Regions from separate parts of the Homo sapiens genome. Here all the other regions are linked to region 5. The links are contacts of gene promoters, found by promoter capture Hi-C in blood cells and fetal thymus (Javierre and others, 2016). All regions are on one chromosome and are shown on one strand. Each heading gives the region's core, a stretch centred on a gene start or on the middle of the fragment in contact. The rest is flanking DNA. Distances are from core to core; before and after follow the strand shown.

The links. The method cuts DNA at HindIII sites, captures the fragments that hold promoters and counts their contacts. A CHiCAGO score of 5 or more calls a contact.
Region 1: a contact is called between a fragment that was not itself captured here and the fragment with the promoter of CAPRIN2 in region 5, in 5 of 17 cell types (total CD4 T cells, naive CD4 T cells, activated CD4 T cells and 2 more). The highest score is 9.4, in total CD4 T cells.
Region 2: a contact is called between a fragment that was not itself captured here and the fragment with the promoter of CAPRIN2 in region 5, in 5 of 17 cell types (M1 macrophages, non-activated CD4 T cells, naive CD8 T cells and 2 more). The highest score is 8.4, in M1 macrophages.
Region 3: a contact is called between a fragment that was not itself captured here and the fragment with the promoter of CAPRIN2 in region 5, in 2 of 17 cell types (total B cells and non-activated CD4 T cells). The highest score is 5.5, in total B cells.
Region 4: a fragment that was not itself captured here is called in contact with the fragment with the promoter of CAPRIN2 in region 5 in 1 of 17 cell types (neutrophils); the score reaches 6.1 in neutrophils.
Region 6: a contact is called between a fragment that was not itself captured here and the fragment with the promoter of CAPRIN2 in region 5, in 1 of 17 cell types (activated CD4 T cells). The highest score is 5.9, in activated CD4 T cells.
Region 7: a contact is called between a fragment that was not itself captured here and the fragment with the promoter of CAPRIN2 in region 5, in 6 of 17 cell types (monocytes, M2 macrophages, M1 macrophages and 3 more). The highest score is 13.1, in monocytes.

The regions. Positions count from the first base shown.
Region 1 is chr12:29,414,783-29,417,482 of GRCh38, reverse strand. All of the region lies in intron 1 of OVCH1-AS1 (OVCH1 antisense RNA 1), which reads right to left. It also overlaps a transcript of OVCH1 not described here. Among named protein-coding and RNA genes, the nearest start is that of OVCH1-AS1, 27 kb to the right of the region's middle. The HindIII fragment of the contact is 489 bases long and covers 1,198-1,686 here.
Region 2 is chr12:29,452,326-29,455,145 of GRCh38, reverse strand. It overlaps OVCH1 (ovochymase 1), which reads left to right. Exons shown (of 26, transcript NM_001353179.2): 21 at 213-305. The region is part of intron 1 of OVCH1-AS1 (OVCH1 antisense RNA 1); the gene reads right to left. Among named protein-coding and RNA genes, the nearest start is that of OVCH1, 44 kb to the left of the region's middle. The HindIII fragment of the contact is 3,720 bases long and covers 1-2,820 here.
Region 3 is chr12:29,489,349-29,492,048 of GRCh38, reverse strand. OVCH1 (ovochymase 1) reads left to right here. Exons shown (of 26, transcript NM_001353179.2): 5 at 857-952; 6 at 2,278-2,429. Among named protein-coding and RNA genes, the nearest start is that of OVCH1, 7.0 kb to the left of the region's middle. The HindIII fragment of the contact is 376 bases long and covers 1,251-1,626 here.
Region 4 is chr12:29,471,862-29,474,561 of GRCh38, reverse strand. It overlaps OVCH1 (ovochymase 1), which reads left to right. Exons shown (of 26, transcript NM_001353179.2): 15 at 1,459-1,533; 16 at 2,580-2,700. The region is part of intron 1 of OVCH1-AS1 (OVCH1 antisense RNA 1); the gene reads right to left. Among named protein-coding and RNA genes, the nearest start is that of OVCH1, 24 kb to the left of the region's middle. The HindIII fragment of the contact is 6,415 bases long and covers 1-2,700 here.
Region 5 is chr12:30,753,653-30,756,352 of GRCh38, reverse strand. It overlaps CAPRIN2 (caprin family member 2), which reads left to right and starts at 1,402. Exons shown (of 19, transcript NM_001385503.1): 1 at 1,402-1,602. It overlaps LOC645485 (a long non-coding RNA gene), which reads right to left and starts at 1,279. Exons shown (of 2, transcript NR_135046.1): 1 at 1,082-1,279. RefSeq lists silencers at 1-77, 1,169-1,848 and enhancers at 1,776-1,945, 1,949-2,028. The HindIII fragment of the contact is 2,894 bases long and covers 1-2,385 here.
Region 6 is chr12:29,390,576-29,393,388 of GRCh38, reverse strand. All of the region lies in intron 1 of OVCH1-AS1 (OVCH1 antisense RNA 1), which reads right to left. Among named protein-coding and RNA genes, the nearest start is that of OVCH1-AS1, 2.7 kb to the right of the region's middle. The HindIII fragment of the contact is 3,369 bases long and covers 1-2,813 here.
Region 7 is chr12:29,433,318-29,436,017 of GRCh38, reverse strand. The region is part of intron 1 of OVCH1-AS1 (OVCH1 antisense RNA 1); the gene reads right to left. It also overlaps a transcript of OVCH1 not described here. Among named protein-coding and RNA genes, the nearest start is that of OVCH1-AS1, 45 kb to the right of the region's middle. The HindIII fragment of the contact is 3,133 bases long and covers 1-2,700 here.

The sequences.
Region 1 (2,700 bases), core at 193-2,692, 1.3 Mb after region 5:
TTTTTTTTTTTTTTTTTTTTTTGAGACGGAGTGTTTCTGTCACCCAGGCTGGAGTGCAGTGGCACAATCTTGGCTCACTGCAACCTCTACCTCCAGGGTTCAAGCAATTCTCCTGTCTCAGCCTCCCGAGTAGCTGAGACTACAGGTGCATGCCACCATGCCTGGCTAAGTTTTTGTATTTTTAGTAGAGATGGGGTTTCACCATATTGGTCAGGTTTGTCAGGTTGGTCTCGAACTCCTGACCTCAGGTGATCCACCCGCCTTGGCCTCTCAAAGTGTTGCTCTTTTATAGCAAAACCCACTTCACCCTTTCCCAGATCCCTGGCAACCACTAATCTATTCTCTATTTCTAGAATTTTGTTATTTCAAGAGTATTTAATCAATGGAGCTGCATAGTATGTAACCTTTTGGGATTGACTTTTTCCACTCAGCACAGTCCCCTGGAGATTTATCCAAGTTGTACTGTGCTTGTTCAATAGTTCTTTCCTTTTGATAGTTCATTCCTTTTAATACATGAATAGCATTCCATGGTATGAATGTACCACAGTTTGTTTAATGGTTCTTCTGTCAAAGCATATCTAGGTTGTTTCCAGCTCTGGGCTATTACAAATACAGCTCCTGTGGAAATTTGTGTACAAGTTTTTGTGTGGACATGTGTTTTCATTTTGGTGGGATAAATGTCCAAGAGTGTAATTTCTGGGTTATATGGAAATTGCATGTTTAGTTTTGTAATAAACTAAGCTGTTTTTCCATGGTAGTTTTACCATTTTATATTCCCACCAGCAATGTGTGAGTGACCTAGTTTTTCTGCATCCTCACTAGCATTTGCCATTGTCATTCTTTTTTAAAAAAATGTTAGCCATTCTGATAGGTGTGTAGTGGTAGTGATATCTTATTGTATTTGCCTAATGGCTAATGGTATCTAACAATGTTTCATTTACTTACTTAATATTTTTTAACCTCTTCAGTGACAAGCCCCTTCATATCTTTAGCCTATTTTCCAATTGAATTGTTTTCTTACTGTGCGGAGTTTGAGGATTCTTTATATATTCTAGCCACTAATCCTTTGTCAAATACATGGTTTGCAGATGTTCCTCCCAGTCTTAGCTTGTCTCTTCATCCTCTTAACAGAGTCTTTCACAAGGCAAAACTTTTAATTTAGATGAAGTCCAATTGCTCCGTTCAAAAAAAAAAGCTTCTCCTTTTGGTGTCAAGTCTAAGTATTCTTTGTCCATCCCTAGATTTTTTCCTTTGCTCTTCCTAAAAGTTCTATAGCCTTAGCCTTACACTTTTACATTTAATTTCATGATCCTTTCCAGTTAATTTTTGTATAATGTGTAAGGTTTAGGTTGAAGTTCCTTTCTCTCTTTTTCTCTCTATCCTTTCCTTTTTCCTTTTTTTTTTGCTTTTTTTGTGGTCTAAGGGATAGCCAGTTGCTCTAACACCATCTGTTGAATTGCTTTTGTGCCTTTGCCATAAATAAAGTGAGCATATTTGTGTAGGTTTATTTCTGGGATCTTTTTTTTTGTTGAGCTATGTTTCTATCCTTTCACATACTACTACATATTATTGTACCTACATAGTAGGCTTTATATGGAAAAGTGATTTCTTCCAATTTATTCTTGGTGAAGATTGTTTTAGATATGCTAAGGTCTGTGCTTTCTCGTATAAATTTTAAAATAAGCTTGCTATGTCTACAACAGCCCTTGCTGTGATTTTGATAGAAATTGCATTAAAGCTATAGCTCAGTTTGGGGAGAATTCACATATTTACTATATGAGTCTTCCAATCCATGAACAATATGTCTCTCCACTTATTTAGATCTTCTTTGATTTCCATCTCCAGAATTTTGCAATTTTCAGCATACAGATCTTGTACCTGTTTTGCTAAGTGTATACCTAAGTATTGCATTGTCTTCATTGTGGTTGTAAATGGTATTTTGTTAGGGTTCAACATGAAATGTGATTGACTTCTTTGTGTTGACCTTATATCCTGGTCCTTCCTGAACCTAGCAGTGGTATTTTATAAATTTCTCGTGGAAATTTTAATGTGCAGCCAAGGTTAAGAAGCATTCTTTTAGACAAAGACCAGTGGTGATATTTAGTGCCCTTAAAATCTTGTGGTTTCCAATTTCAATACCATTTAGCAATCCTTGGGTGTATGCCTGCATGATTCTGTCTTCTAATATCCACAGTCGTCATTACAAACGTTCCCCCTTCTTTTCAGCCCTTCTTTCCTTACTTTCTTATCTTGATCCTTTTTCCTGTTCTCCGAGGACTGTGCTTCCTACTTAACACCACCTGATACCAACAGTAACATAAGATTTTGTTTCTCTTCCCTCTAAGAATTTAGTAACTTATCTATAACTGTACCTATTCATTTCTTTCCACTGGGAAGAGTGAGAGATGACTTTTTTCCCATTAAAGACAAGACACTTCCCACCTGTAATTTCCAGCATCATTACCTTTATGTGAATATTTGGGCATACTTCTTTCATGTATTTCCTGTACTAGTCGTTTGTATTTAAGTAGTTGTAATAATATACCTATTGTAAGTTTTATTTTATTGTATATTTTCATTTATGATTGTCAGCATTGCTTCATAATATTAAAGACTTTTAAAATATAATTAATTTTAATGGATACATGGTAGCCTTTCCACAATTCATATGAAAATGGATTGTTTCCTTTTTAAAAAAAT
Region 2 (2,820 bases), core at 128-2,627, 1.3 Mb after region 5:
GTAGAATTTCATTTAGTTACTAAACACACTAAAATGCAAGATTCTGCAAAATAAGTTCTCCCATGTGTAGAGTTAAACTGACTTTTCCTTAGGCTGCTTTAATCCTGGATTTGTTTCTTTTTTGTTTCTTTTGATAGTGGCTGCTTTAGTGCCCACTATATTTTGTTCTCAGGCTTTCATCTTTATTTTTAACATGTTCTCCCCAAATACAGGTCCTGCTTCACTTCAGACAAATAATAAATGCAAAACCTTAAAACAACAATTGCCACCACCCACACCTTCACCAGACAGTGCATCTTGGCCAGGTAATAAATGTTTACATTATCCCATTAATACTTTCAGCCAGAATTTGGCAAGAAGCATTGTCTGTCTAGCTTTGCTAAATTTTCTATGGAACACTATAACCTCTGTGTTTTCCTTCTGGTTGGTAGTTTTAGCTGAAAGTGGGGAGAGTTGTTATTAAGATTGTTGGAGATCATTCCTACCCCAAAGCTAGACCTGTTGCAGATTTTTAAAAAAATCTTGTGGTTGTGAACCAGTGCTTGAATATTGGAGAATTACATAGAATTATTTTAAGCTCTGAATCTGAATAAAAGTCCTTCTATATGCAAGTATCTTGCCTAGGTAAAGACCCTGGGTATGAGATGACCAAGACTAGCGCCAGCATTAGTATTTCTCTTCATTCTTCCACAGTTGCCACTCTCTGTTTGATAAAAGAGGATTTTGATTTTTAGTCAAAACTAACAGCAATGGAGGATTTGAAATCTCTAATAGACTTGTAGGAAGATGGAAGTTCTATTTTATTATCACTCTTGGTTTCCAAATGGTCAGTCTTTCTTTTGTTGCCCACATCTTCCCCAATACATTCAACCCCAGTAAACAACTAGTAAGAGTTTAAAGAAAATGTAAGATATAGAAGGTAGAATTGCAAGAGTGATGACTTTGAGTAGAAGAAAGAAGATGAGATCTAGTACCCAAAAGGAGGCGATGGTCTTAGGAGCAAAGTACATATCATCTATAGTTAACTGATGGAAGGCAGGATCTTGAGGCACCGGTGCAGGTATGAGGTGTTTGGGAATAGATGGAGATCGGAGCCTGTGGAATTTCTCTTCTGATGGCTTCTTTTTCTTAGCAGATGAACAAAAAGAAGCGGTTGTTCAAGAAAGTTTGATTTTTAAGAGAAAAAAGGATGACATATTTCTCGAGAAAATGACATAGTGAACTAGAAAGATATAGTAGGATTGCTGGGTAGCATAAAGGCCCCCTGAGATGAATGATCATAAATTGAGAGAGCAAAATGCCCCCAGTTAGCTTAGTTGTATGTTTTCCTCTGGATGCACTGAGGTAGATGCAGAGTAGGTAGAGGGTAGACTTAATCAAAGTGGAGTATCCCCAAGTATGTGAAGGGTATAAGGGAATTCAGAGTGTATGTGAAAAAGTGGTTAAAATGATGGATCATTGGAATTTAGGATGGGTAAGGAGTGAAATAAGGATGAGAGATTTGTTTGGGACAAAAATAAGGTAGGATAGATAAATTATGAGTCCCAAAAGGTGGAAGGAGTATTAAGGGAGGCTGAAAAGATGGAAGGTTGTGGTTGGAGAAAATGGTTCCTGAAACCGAGATTACAGAAGGCTTGGAGTTATTGCTACTGATCAAGTGTCTAGGGGCTGACCATAAGGATAAGTGGCTGAGGTCAGGTGGAATACAAGATCACTGGAGGAAAATTGAGGAGCTGGGAAACTTCAGTGCTGGAATCATCATGTATATAGTGATTGAATTCAGAAAGAATTATGACAGGAAAAGTGTTGGAGAAAATGACCGCTAAAATCTTCCAGGAATAAGGAGTGGACCCAGGACCATTTGTCTGGCAACATGAGTCAAAGAGTCAAAGCTGGGGATACATAGAGTTAGGTTAAAAGTAAATCTGGACTTGGGATTGAGACAGAGAGCAGACTTGGGTCCAAGATCCTATAAACTATTGATTTCAATGGACTGAGTTAAATGAATGAATTCAGTGAGTGCCTAAATAGGTTAATCCATGTAAGGCATTTATAACAGGAAGGGTCTGACCTGAGATAAGGGTCCATAAATGGTGGTGACAGTGCCATCTAATGTATTTTTTGAATGACCTTATTCAGACCATTAGAAAATGAACATTGTTAAAATGTAAAGAAAATGTTTCTCTTTTAAATATGTTCAGAAATGGTTATGCACGCCAAAAACTTTGAAAGTTTTATATACGGAAAGGTGTTGCTTTGTTTTTATTCTATGATTATTTTCGGAGACAAAATGTTAGGACCATGCCATATTTAACACCCACCCACTCCCGCTACTAACTTTTTACACTAGGGAATTAATGAATCTTAGCAATGGTTTCTTTCAATTGTTACTCCCATTTATAAAAAGTCTTGACTTGTTGGTAATTCATGGCTGTATGTGATTTCTGGTCAGATTTTTCACAGAGGATTCATATAGAGAGGGAGAAAAACTAAAAAGATTAGAAAGACAGGCTGAGGCCAGACTCTGAAAGATCTTGCAAGCTGAACTACTTCAGTTGCTTTCAGCAGGAAAACAATTTGATTTTTTTTGTTTTATACACCATTCCCAGATGGTAGGGCAAGGCGAGGGAAGATTATAGACTGAAAAATCATTTAGTTTACTATTAAATCAAAATGTTAAATATCTGATTGGTTCTTGTAGCTGTACAGATAAAAAAAGAGGACTAACAAAGAAATGACAGAGAACCAAACAATAGAATAGAATCCTAAGTTTTTGTAGCACTTCATTTCCCTTATTCTACTTTTCACCTCTACTGTGAA
Region 3 (2,700 bases), core at 189-2,688, 1.3 Mb after region 5:
GAACAATGTATTATATTTGCTGTTTGTTTCTTCTCCTCTCACCCAACACACAAACACAAATATATACACTCATGAGGTTCTACCAAGACAGAGATATTTTTCTTTCTGTTCATTCGTTGAGATCTAAAAGAGTGCTTGCCACGTGATAATTTGATCATCTTGTTCTACTGTCTTCTAACATTCGCTTACTGCTGTTGAGAAATCAAGAACATTCCATTTTTGGTAATATGTTTTTTTCCTTCTAGATTTTTTTGAGATCCATTCTTTGTTTTTAGTGTGCTACATTTTCAGCAATGTCTAGATACAAAATTATTTTTTGCATCATAGTTGGAGTTACTGGGCTTTTTTCTAAAGATTTGGATATCAATTGTGATCAGTCCTCAGCCACTTTCTCTTGAATTACAGTCTCTTCCCACCATTATCCATATTTTTTCTAAGCTTCCCAGGTTCTTTACAGCTCCTCTCATGGCCAGTTAAATTTCTAGGATCTTAAAGATCAATTCAATCTCTCAAAGGCAGTGGCCTGGCTAATTCCTCTGGATTTGTGTTCAATAACTGTCAAGTGAAAAACTACCCTTTCAAAACACAGGCATAGTCTAAAATGTTAGTACATTAGGGGGCTCGTGGTGTGCGGAACAATTGGCCTTATGTTTATCCTTGTTTTACTTTTTCTGCATTTCTCAAAATTTCTATAAATACAAAACGGTTTTATATGGAGGGGCCAAAACTTAAAATATGTCACCATTACATTTAGGAAGAAAGTGTAGAAGCCATGAAATCAAGAGATTTCACTTTTCCAAATATATTCAACATGGCGTATTTATCCATGAACCTCATGCCTTTGTTGTTTTCTCAGGAAATGCTGTTCAGCCAATCTGTCTTCCTGACAGCGATGATAAAGTTGAACCAGGAATTCTTTGCTTATCCAGTGGATGGGGCAAGATTTCCAAAAGTAAGAGACACCAAAATGACTTAATACTTCTTCCAGCTCTCTGTATGTCCAGGGGAAGCAGAAATAATTTTGTTGACCATGAGTAGTACATTTATCATTTTTTATAACTAATTTCTGACACAACGAAGATTTCTGGTAGTCCTCAGCATTGAAAGGCTTATACTTTTAAAAAGGCTATTCATATCACTCCTGCTGCTGCCAATTTGGTATGGCAGATAAAGGAAGCTGGATAGAGCTGTGACAGATGAGGAGGAATAAGGCAAAAGGATGATCAGGAAATAGCAACAATAGTTAAGCTTCTTTGTCTTTAATATTGTGACTTTTTTGAAAAGTCAGACTCGGAAACAAAAAGTAGAAGGGTGATTACCTGGAATTTGAGAATGAGAGAAACGGGAAGATGTGGTTCAAAGGGTGTAAATGTGGAATTGTATGACAAGTAAGTTCTGGAAATCCAATATACTGCATGGGAACTATAGTTAATATATTGAATACTTGAAATTTGCCAAGAGAGTAAATGTTAAGTATTCTCACTACAAAAAAGTTAACTCTGTGGGGTGATGTAATGTTAATTACCATGATTATGGTAATCATTTTGCAATGTATACATATATTAAAACATCACTTTGTACTCCTTGAATAAATACAATTTTTATTTGTCAACTATACCTAAAGCTTGACAACAATACATTGTGATTTTTTATTTTATAAATAATTTTAGGCAGGGCGCAGTGGCTCACGCCTGTAATCTTAGCACTTTGGGAGGCCAAGGCAGGAAGATGGGAGCCCAGCAGTTCCAGACCAGCCTGGATAACATAGGAAGACCTTGTCTCCACAAAAATAAATAAATAAATAAATAAAAAATAAAAAATTAGCAAATCACGGTGGCATGCCTGTAGTCCCAGCTACTTGGGAAACTGAGGTGGGAGAATCACTTGCTCCCAGGAGGTTGAGGCTACAGTGAGCCTTGATTGTACCATTGCACTCCAGCCTGAGTGACAGAGGGACACCTTGTCTTAAAAAAATCATTTTTATAAAACATTGCCATATTGACCAAAGTTTTCCTCTTTTGGGGAAACATTTAAGCATTTGTTTAGAGCAGCCACAATTGTACAATTGCCTATGTTACCTTAAAAATCTGCTGAATTTTCAAAAAATGTCCTCTGCCACATATCTGATTTTTAGAAGTGAATATGATTCACACCTAAAAACAATTACTTCTACATGTGGTTAAAAATCTGTTTGAAATAGTTCCAAACTTGTAGACTTCCCATTAATTTGTTTCCATGAGGATATTGTGTGCTAACTTATCTGTCCTCTCTCTACAGCATCAGAATATTCAAATGTCCTACAAGAAATGGAACTTCCCATCATGGATGACAGAGCGTGTAATACTGTGCTCAAGAGCATGAACCTCCCTCCCCTGGGAAGGACCATGCTGTGTGCTGGCTTCCCTGATTGGGGAATGGACGCCTGCCAGGTACAAAAGTGTAAACCAGCCTAGCTGTTCAGTAACATGTGGGTGAAAGTAGATTCTGCCTTTCCCCAAAAGAAGCTCATGTTTCTTCTATTACTGTGTCAAAATTCTTTTTCCCTTCATCTTTTCCTCTGATTTCTACTGAAAAAGTGTACTTGACCTGAGCAGAAAGAATTATTTCCTGTCTCCACGTCCATTCCTACCCCTACACTTCTTTTATTTCGGTGGGTTGGCAAAAGGGGTTAGTTTCAACGTGTGCAACCTAATGGAATCA
Region 4 (2,700 bases), core at 170-2,669, 1.3 Mb after region 5:
AAAGGCAGGAGTGAGATCATGTTGAACATGAGGCATTAAATTATAAGTGCCAGAGTGATAGGATAGCTAGCTAACTTTTGATTACTTGCCCTGTAGCAGGTATTCACTAAGCATTTCACATGCATTATCTCATTTATTCCTCCTTACATACATAGGAGTTATGTGCATTGCTCTCCTCTCACCAGTGAGGGAAGTGAGGCTTTGAGAAGTTAAGTAACGTTCCCAAAGATACACAGCTGGCAAGAGGTGGAGTCAGAACTTGGCCTCTCTGACTCCAGAGTAACCTGGAAGATTATGAATGAACTTACATGCAAGAAAAGTACTGAGAAAATCATTGTAAAGAATTTATTCTATACGTATTGTTTTATTATATATATAGTAGGGATGGAATATATGAAGGAAGACAAGTCCAGTGTTGTATTAGTCAGGGTTCTCTTAGAGGGACAGATATATATATGTGTGTGTGTGTGTGTGTGTGTGTGTGTGTATGTGTGTGTGTGTTTATTAAGTATTAACTTACATGATCACAAGGTCCCACAGTAGGCTGTCTGCAAGCTGAGGAGCAAGGAAAGCCAGTCCGAGTCCCAAAACTGAAGAACTTGGAGTCCAGTGTTCTAGGGCAGGAAGCATCCAGCATGGAAGAAAGATGTAGGCTGGGAGGCTAGGCCCATCTCTGTTTACATGTTTTTCTGCCTGCTTTATGTTAGCTGGAAGCTGATTAGATTGTGCCCACCAGATTAAGGGTGGATCTGCCTTCCCCAGCCCACTAACTCAAATGTTAAATTCTTTTGGCAACACCCACACAGACACACCCAGGATTAATACTTTGTGTCCCTCAATCCAATCAAGTTGACACTCAGTATTAACCATCACAAATATGATTTTCAAGATCCTAGCTTGAATGGCGAGGTGAGTGGTAGAAGCCACTAGATGATAGAGAAATGTAAGAACAAGACTGTATTGACTCTTAAAATCATTTGGTTCAATTTAAGACATGTAGATATTAGCTTGTGGGAAATCCAAGTGGGGATATCTAAAAGTCTTAGGTCTAGGATTCAGGAAAGAGATTTAGATTGAAGAGAGAAATTTGGAAGTCATCTACATGTAGATGAATAAAAATAGAGTAATGAACATTACCTTGGCAATATCTTTTCAGGCTAAACAATGAGATCCTGAAAAAAAGACTGATATTGAAAACAGCCATCAATGTATAAGGAAAACCATGAGATTAATATCAAGAAACCAAGGAAGGAAGAAGTGCTTAAAAGAGCCAGATGGAACAGGGATATTAACGGATATACAAGAAATCACATTTCTGGGATCTGGCATCTAGTGTATGAATGGTAGTGTTAGTGAGATCTACAGTAGAGTAGTTTTATGATTTACCAGGGTAAGCAAGTGGGGTCAGTTAGTGCAACTTCTCTAATTACTTTCAATTAATTTTTTTTTCTTCTACAGAGTCTTTAAACAAATTTGAACCAAAGTTACCTCCCCAAAACAATCCTGTATCTACCGTAAAAGCTATTCTGCATGGTGAGTTGGTGACATGTTATTACTATCTGTTTAATCTTGTTTCTTCATTAACTAGATGTCTCTTTTGGAAGCCCTTATCTTACATTGGCTATAACTCCACAGTGAAGAAGAATGAGTCTTATATTTAGGTCCATAAAACGTCCAGAGTCATATTTGGATTTATAGTTAGACTCATAAATAGAGGGAAGAACAAATGAGCTTTAGGTTAGGAAGAAAAGGGTATAAAGCAATGTTTTGTCCTCATTCATTCCTCTACAAACTTAATATTTAAAATGACTTCTATAGTCAGTGTGGGGCAAAGAGAGAAAACAAAGGTTTTTTATTTTAAATTCACACTGGCATCTTTTAATTTCCTTATGCTCTAAGGCATCTGGGTAAATACTATGATCCCTCATTGTTCCACATACATGTATTGAATATGTTCAAGTTGATGGACTGGAATAGAAAGTTGCACAAGGAGCTATTAGAGAAGAAAATATCTGCCTGTTGCTGGAGGGTTGGAGAAGGCTTCCTAGAGATTAGTGCTTGGGCTATGGGTCTCATCAATTCCTGATAAGAGAACAGCATTTAGATGCCTGAGCAAATTTGATATGTTTGAGGATTGATACATGGATTCATACAGTGAGAACAAGAACTAAAACAAGAAGATATAATGAAGAACCTTATGTACTCTGCTAACAAACTTGAAATTTTCCTACTAGAATGTAAGTTCCATGGGGGCCAGTATTTTTATCATCTATTCTATTCCACCAATAATATATCACCAATGTCTGGAACAGTGCCTAGCAAATGGCAAGCACTAAATAAATATTTGCTAAATGAATAAATAAAATTCTGTAGGCCAGTCCCTAAAATTCTGGTTGCCTAGCATAGTCTGGGAAGGCTTCTTAAAATCAGATTTTTCAGAGGTGAGTTTTGGGAGTCAATATTATTATAAAGCCTATCTGATGTTTGAGAATCACTACTGTTAACTATGGCAAGCTATTGGAGGAGTATGTTCTAAATTACTGCAACCTTATGGGTCATTGGTTTCATCTTTACTGTAGATGTCTGTGGCATCCCTCCATTTAGTCCCCAGTGGCTTTCCAGAAGAATCGCAGGAGGGGAAGAAGCCTGCCCCCACTGTTGGCCATGGCAGGTGGGTCTGAGGTTTCTAGGCGATTACCA
Region 5 (2,700 bases), core at 153-2,652:
CCGACCTCAGGTGATCCACCCCGCCTCGGCCTCCCAAAGTGCTGGGATCACAGGCTTGAGCCACTGCGCCGGCAGGGGGCAAACATTTCATGATTAATCTGACTGAAATACCATTTTTAGGTTCATCATTAGCTCGGACTACAACTCAGGCTGTGCTGTAACTTTGTGTCAACTCATTGATCCAACAGTGTGTCCTTCACATTTTTTCTTATGGCCACTGTTTTTTGTGTTACCAAAGGTGAAGGCATAGCCTTCCTCTCCTCATGTTCAGCATCTTCTGCGTTTCTCTGTTTATAAACAATGAGAAAAAGGGAAAATCTAGTATTTCTCTGACCCTGAAGAACACATATGGGATTCAGAGATTCAAAGTTAAAATGCAACATTAGGGTACATTATGTCACCAGGGACCGAAAAGAACACGGATAATAGATGCCAAAAAAATGTATTAAGTAATGTTAAAATTAATTTGTGTGAAGTTGACCAAGGCTTTTAAAACTAGACCTTTGTTTCCTTGATTCTTCTTCTGAATTTTCTGTTCTTTTGCTAGTCTCAATATTTTTTATCAGAGCGTCAGGGACAATCAGGACCTAAAAAACTCCACTTGGTGTAATAAGTAAACACATGTTGGGGCAAAGTATTGCTGAGTGTGTGTGTGTGTTTCTTATTTGGTATCAGAAACACCTTCCTTTCCTCAATAAACTTTTACATATTTCCAGACTTTTCTCTTAATTTTATGTAACCTTACAAAGATTTTTTACAGCTTTCTCTGCGTGCCAGTCAATTAATGTGTGTCACATGAACAAATAATACGGCTTGAATAAACTCAATCCTATTATTGCAGGTTGCGAAGTCACCTACTCCGTTTTTATGGCGATGCTGATTTGGGGCATTCTGCTCTTACAGGCTGATTCCCCGGTAAGGAAACGGTGTTTTTTCCCCATCCTACTATGAAAGATGCTATCTGAGGGGCAAAGGCGCATCTGCATTTCACGACTACCCACTAGGCTACGACAGCCTCAAGCATGGCTTATCTGGTAGTTCCGCGAAGGGCTCGCTGCCCTCCTGGAGCTATTGGAGTCACCTGTTCAAGGTCGCGAAACCACCGGTGCCGCCGGCAATCAGCGAGGTCCAGCGGGGCTGCGCGGTTTCCGGCCTGCCGGCGTTCGGCGTCGCCTCGGCCCCACCTGGTGCCCCGCAATCTGCGCAAAGGCTGGGAGACCGCGCCCTCTCCCGACCTACCACCAGCCCAAGCTGGGCCCGGAACTAACACCCGACAAGCGCTGGCGGCCAGCTGCAGCCGGGAAGGAGCACCGGAAGGAGGCGGTGGCGGGGCGGCCGAGGGCGGAGCGGGCCGGGGCGGGGCGCGGCCTACAAAAGCCACGCGCGGCGCGGTGGGCGGGCCTGGGCGCGAGCGGCTGAGTCGGCTGGGTCTCTGGCGCCGCAGAGGCCGCGGGCGAGGACCGGGAGGGGAGAGGGAGGAGACAGGAGGAGGAGACGCGAGTGCGGGGTGGCGCCGGTCCACCTCCGCAGCGCTCCTGCCTCCCCCAGGCTTTGGAAGGCGGGCCCGGGCTGCGGCAGCGGCGGCCTCGGCTGCCTGGGGAGGTGAAGTCGGGCTGCGGCGGCCTCGGTCGGCGCGGCGGAGGGAGGCGGCTGACCCGGCGAGGGTGGGCAGGTCTGGGCGGCCGGCGCCGCTGCGAGGTGGAGGGGCGGCTTGGCATCCCCGGGGCGGGGCGGGGCTCCCGAGGGCCGCGGTCGGTGCGTTTTCCGCAGGTCAGCCTCCCCCGGGGCCTTGCAGAAGCGGCTTCTGCGTACCCGGGGCGGCTGTGGGAAGGGTGGGGGTCGGTGCCTGCAGGGCTCTCCGTGGCCGCTCGGGAGAGGTGCTCTTCGCTCAGGCTCCCCCGGAGACTTGAGGGGGTGCGCGCTGGCGTGCATGGGGCCTGTTCTGTCCTTGGTTTGGGGATGCTCCTAAGGGGGGAGAAAGGGATACCTCGGGTGCTTGGAGGTCGAGAGACGGATACGTAAGTGCGCAAGGGCCACTGATTAGGGCACGGGAAGGGCTCGCTAGAATGAGCTCTTAAACTGGTTGGGTGTAAGCGGTTTTGGGCTAGTCTAAACCAAACAACTGAGAATAAACGCGGGGTTCCTGCAGGTTGAGAGAGTACCTGTCTGCAAATGTCCAGTAGTGATGGATTGCCTTGTAGGCCCCAGAGCAATCGGGGAAGTTAGCATTCTTGTTCAAGAAGCTGCTGGTTCACTTAGAGCTATAAAAGAATGTTGTGAGTTTGGATTTTCTTCCAAACGTTCAGGATTGAGGTTAGGGCTGGTGGTGAGGGATCATGTAAAGAGGTTTGAGTGGCTCAGCCTTAGGTCCCGGTGTGGAAAGCTTATTCTTTTGGTGTCATCACGTGGCCATGGGAATTATTTAGAATGTGATCTGCCCTCATGAGAAGAAAGGAGCTCTGAAGCCGTTGCAGTTCTTCCTCCCTATGTGGAAAATCGAATTTCTGGAAACATCCTCCGTATTGGGAGATTTTGCCTATGTAAAGGCTATCCTTATTGGCTAGCGGCACTAATTACTTTAAAAGTAGGATGGAAGTACAAGTATCTCAAGCATCATTGGGTTTCGAGCTCACTTCTGTGGAAAAGAGTTTAAGGGAGTGGTCTAGACTTTCCAGGGAAGTTATTGCCTGGCTGTGTCCC
Region 6 (2,813 bases), core at 29-2,528, 1.4 Mb after region 5:
ATACCTCCTCTGCCCACCCCCGCTTCCCCCGCCCCAACCACCTAATGAATAGTCTGCATTCGCTCCTAAGCATCACCTTTTAACAATTCCATTCCCAAATGCAACCACTCCTAGGAAGTACTGAAAACAAATGCTTAGAGGGGTGTTACTTAAGCCCTCTACTTTTAACCTACATTGTGCACTTTTTTTTTTTGAAACGGAGTCTCGCTCTGTCGCCAGGCTGGAGTGCAGTGGTGCGATCTCGGCTCACTGCAACCTCCACCTCCCAAGTTCAAGCGATTCTCCTGCCTCAGCCTCCCGAGTAACTGGGGCTACAGGTGGACACCACCACGACCAGCTAATTTTTGTATTTTTAATAGAGATGGGGTTTCACTATGTTGGCCAAGATGGTCTCGATCTCTTGACCCCGTGATCCGCCTGCCTCGGCCTCCCAAAGTGCTGGGATTACAGGTATGAGCCACTGCAACAGGCCGTTGTACACTTTTAAACACCTAGAAAGACTAGATGTTTCAAACTGGACTTAAGTTTTTCATTATATACACAGTAGCATTGAATAAATGGTATACATACATAACACAGACTGTAATTTGAGTGTCTTCTAAATAGGAACATTCTGGCCTAGAACCCTTCCCTTTCCCACCTCTACCAACCCCGTGGACAGCTATAAGCCATCTGTAATGCTTAGGGGGGATTTTAACAATCTCACTTCTGTTTTTAAGAAGTCTTTCCTATGAATTTTAACACAAAGTGTACTCAATGTAGTAGTTTACTAATTCTACTTTTGTCATATACTGGCAACCTTTTTAACGTCGACTGGATGTAAATTAGGACTCCTTTGTCCACTTATATACACTATATACACAGCACAGTAAATGAAAATGCAGACATAAGGGACAATGGTCAATGTGCCTCCTCATAAACACACTGGACACTGGTAGAAAGCCCTTTGCACTTTGTGCTCCTCCTTCCCCCTGAACCAGCACAAATATCAAAATGTGTACTGCTCAGAGAATTGATCAATTTCCAAGACAATATTTCATATCAAAAGGATAGCTACAAAATGTGTTATTTACTACCTCTACTTTTAACATACTTTGTGCACTTCTAAACATCTAGAAAGACTAGATGTTTCAAATAAGGACTTAAGTTTGTCCGCTATATACACAGTAGTGTTGAATAAACTACACACATGTAACAATGGGTATATCTGAAAGTGTCTTCTAAATAGGAACATTCTGGTCTAGAACCCTTCATTCCTTCCAACTCCTCTCCACCACCAACCTGGTGGATATAGGCACGTGTCACTTAGAGCTGATGTTATCTCACTTCCAAAAGTCCTTTTCACAAGACAGCTTTTCTACAAATTTTAACAAAGTGTACAAAATGTGTTAGTTTACTAACTCTACTTCTGTCATACATTGGCAACCTCTTTAGTATCTAGAGACTAGATATTATAAAATCGGGACTCATTTGTCCATTATATACACAGTATAGCAAAGTTAAATGAAATGCATGTAACATATAGGCAATGGATTAAGCTGAAATTTGTTAATAAACAATGTCAAAACACCATTTGCAATTTCTTCCCTCCCACCTCCCAGGTGGTTCAACAATTCCACTTCCAAACAGCATTTCCCATCAGTTTTTAAAAGCTATTTACAAAGTGTTATTCTACTACCACTTTTAAATACATCAAGCACTTCCAAATATCTAGAAAGACTAGATATTTCATATAACTTGTCCACCACGTACACAGCACTGTTAAATAAAATTGCACACACATAACAATGGTTATCATCTGAGGTATCTTCTAAATGTGGCCATTTTGGCCTTGAATCATTCCCCCCTCCCTTCCTTCTCTGCCTTCAATCCAGTGGACAAGTACAGGCACATGTAATGCTTAGAGATGGTTGACCAAATTCCTATGCAAAAGTCATTTACAGAAGACAAGTTTTCGTATGAATTTCAACACAAAGAGTACAAAATATGCTAATTTTACTACATTGTCATACACTGGCAACCTCTTTAACATCTAGAGACTAGATGTTGAAAAATTAGGACTATTTGTCCATTATATACACTATATACAGAGCAAAACAAAATGCACAAAACATATAGAAAAATGGTGTCTGAAAACGTCCAAGTATGAACACACTAGTATATTACCTTTTGCAATTTCTTCCCTCCCACTTCCTCTAAACCATTGAACAAGTATAGACATTACTATACTGCTCACAAAGGTGGCTTCACAATTCAATTTCCAGAAGTATTTCCTATGAATTTTAGCAAAAAGATATTTACAAAGTGGTATTTTACTACCTCTACATTTAACATACATTGGGCACTTCTAAACATCTAGATAGACTAGATGTTTCAAGTAAGGAGTTAATTTGTCTACTATGTATACAGCAGTCTTGAATAAACTGCAAACATGTAAAAACAGTTATAATTTGAAAGAGTCTTCCAAATGTGAACATTCTGGCCTAGAACCCTTCCCATTTCCATCAACCCAGAATACATCAAATTTTCAGAAGACAATCTTTCCTAGGACTTGTAAAACAAAATGTACAAAATATATTAGTTTACTAACTCTACTTTTGTCATACACTGGCAACCTCTTTAACATCCAGAAAGACTAGATGTTGTCAATTAGGATTCGTCTGTCCTTTATGTACACTATATACACAGATAAGTAAAACAAAACGCACAGAGATAATGATTCATCTTGCCTCGCTGTAAACAGGATGTCATAGAGCTCTCTGCACCTCCCCCTCCTCTCTCTTCCCCTGAACCACACTGCACAATGAGCATTA
Region 7 (2,700 bases), core at 89-2,588, 1.3 Mb after region 5:
GTAAATGAAATACAGGTCTAAAAAGATCAATATGTTTAATTGGACATCTTTATAAGATTATGAGTAATTTTTTTTGAAATTCTCTAAATTTTTCCCAGTGAATAAATAAACATTTCTAATTTTAAGGCTATAAATAGGGAAAAGAAGGAGGAAAAATATGTCTTGTTCTACAAGCTGAAATGGATTCATAGTGGAGCAGTTACAGGGAGCTTCATGACAGTATTCAAACCATTTAGCAGCCTGCCTCACAAGAAAGGGAACCAGATGAGATTACATCATCTTCTGAGGGGTGCTTTAGAAATCTTAGGGTAGTGGGAGGTTGAAGGAAACTGCTATTACCAATACCCTTTTTAAGTCACGGGGCCTCCGGGTGCGGTAGCTCATGCCTGTAATCCCAGCACTTTGGGAGGCCGAGGTGGGCGGATCACGGGGTCAGGAGATCAAGACCATCCTGGCTAACACAGTGAAACCCTGTCTCTACTAAAAATACAAAAAATTAGGCGGGCGCCTGTAGTCCCAGCTGCTCGGGAGGCTGAGGCAGGAGAATGGCGTGAACCCAGAAGGAGGAGCTTGTGGTGAGCCGAGATCGCGCCACTGCACTCCAGCCTGGACGACAGAGCGAGACTCCGTCTCAAAAAAAAAGTGGTTTTTAAGAGACAGGTTCTCGCTATGTTGTCTAGGCTCAAGTGCAGTGACTATTCATAGATATGATCGTAGTGTATTCAGCCTTGAACTCCTGGGCTCAAGCAATCCTGTTCCTCAGCCTCCCCAGTAGCTGGGACTACAGGCTCACGCCACGGGTCTGGCTGTTCTAAGAAATACTGTCTAAAATGTTTCATTTTGACCAACTAATGGGTTTGACTTGTGTGGCAATTACTGCAACTTGCCTGTTATAAATTTGGCCACTGTGGATAAATGAAGGTTATATGTAGCTAAAGCTCAAATATACTTGCTAAAAATATTATATTTCAGTTTGGTGACAGCAATAACTTTTTAGTTCCCTGAGGACCCAGTCTTAGACCATGTCACCTTTTCTTACAACATATAGTTTTTAAAAGATGTACCTAAGTTATTCCGACATCATAAGAACTGGGCATTATGTCCTAGTTGATTTAGAACTACTGTCTTAAAACTGCTTAGACTCAGGAATAGGGAACATCCAGCTCTCTATTCTAATTGGCTTTTATTCAGTTATTTTTCCCATTTTTATATTGATATAGCAGAAATTTATAATTTCAAACATAAGAATTTTTTACTTTGCTCAATAATCTTTGTCTTGATGAATAGTAAGGTTTTTTTTTGTTGTTGGGGACAAGGTAAATTATGTGAAAGAGATTCACTTTTATGAAAATCTCTTACGATTTTCACATATAATGTCATTTTGGCCATGAAGAGTTTTCTCTGAGAGACTCTTTTTGTATTTCTGGTAAGTCCATTTTTTCCCTATTTGTTGTTTTTGTTCAATTTCTTGTGCTTCTTTTGTTCCATATGTATGTTTTTGTTCAATTTATTGTGCTTTATTGGGAAAATTTTGTTATCGAATAAGTAAATTAATAGATTGTAATTCTTTGTTTCATTTGTCAGCTTTAGGAAAGGACAAAAATATAATATTTAAAATTCTGACTTCTGTAATCTGTGGAGGCCTCATGCTAAACCTGTATGAAGTACAAGATTGAGCAGATTTTTTTTAACACCTAAGCATACTCTTTATTTTTCTGGATACTTGGAATATTGCGACAATACAGTCAGAAATTTTTATCCCTAGCAAAGAAGTTTCAAGTAGCTTTTCTCTTTTGGAATTCACTTCCTGAATGTACTAATATCAAGAATAATTTGTCCTTTTTTTCTTTACTTGTTTGATTAGTTCATATGTGTTAGTTGTAACCAGATTTTTGAAAGATACGCTTTGTCCGTCATCCTGTGGTTTGAGCAAAGGCACTAATAGCATTATGAAAACGGGTAACTATTGCAAATTATAGAAATCGGATATCATAGAGAAACATTTGCCATTATATTTAATTCTGAATATTTATTAGAATTCCCTCAGTACTTAAGATTAATCCATTCACACTCATTTTTTTTTAATCAGCCAGCAGGCTTTGCTTTACTGCCCATTTTACCTTTTGTTTCTTTTTTTTTTGGACATGTTAATTGAAATACAGTTTGGGAGGCATTTCCATTAAAAACATTTTACTTAATTTTAGTATGATAATGTAAGAAGTGTTGGAAAAAGAAAACAGAAGAAATTTGCATCAAATTTAAGTTATGTAAGTATATCATAAGGGACTAACATAAAATAGAAAAAAATCTCACATTTAAACCGAGAATTATTCAGACCACCAACAAATTGTTGTAGGAATATGCCAGGCACTATTCAAAGAAATGAAGATTGAGCAATGAACAAGACAGTCCCTGCCATAGTAGCACTTACAGTCTAGTAATGGAGATCGTCAATAATCATATAAAAATATATAGTATATTAAGTTACTGTATTAGTCCATTTTCATACTGCTATGAAGAAATACCTGAGACTGGGTAATTTATAAAGAAAAAGAGGGTTAATGGACTCACAGTTCCACACAGCTTGAGAGGCCTCATAATCATGGCGGAAGGTGAAAGAGGAGTAAAGGCACGTCTTATGTGGCAGCAGGCAAGAGAGCGTGTGCTGGGGAACTGCCTTTTATAAAACCATCAGATCTT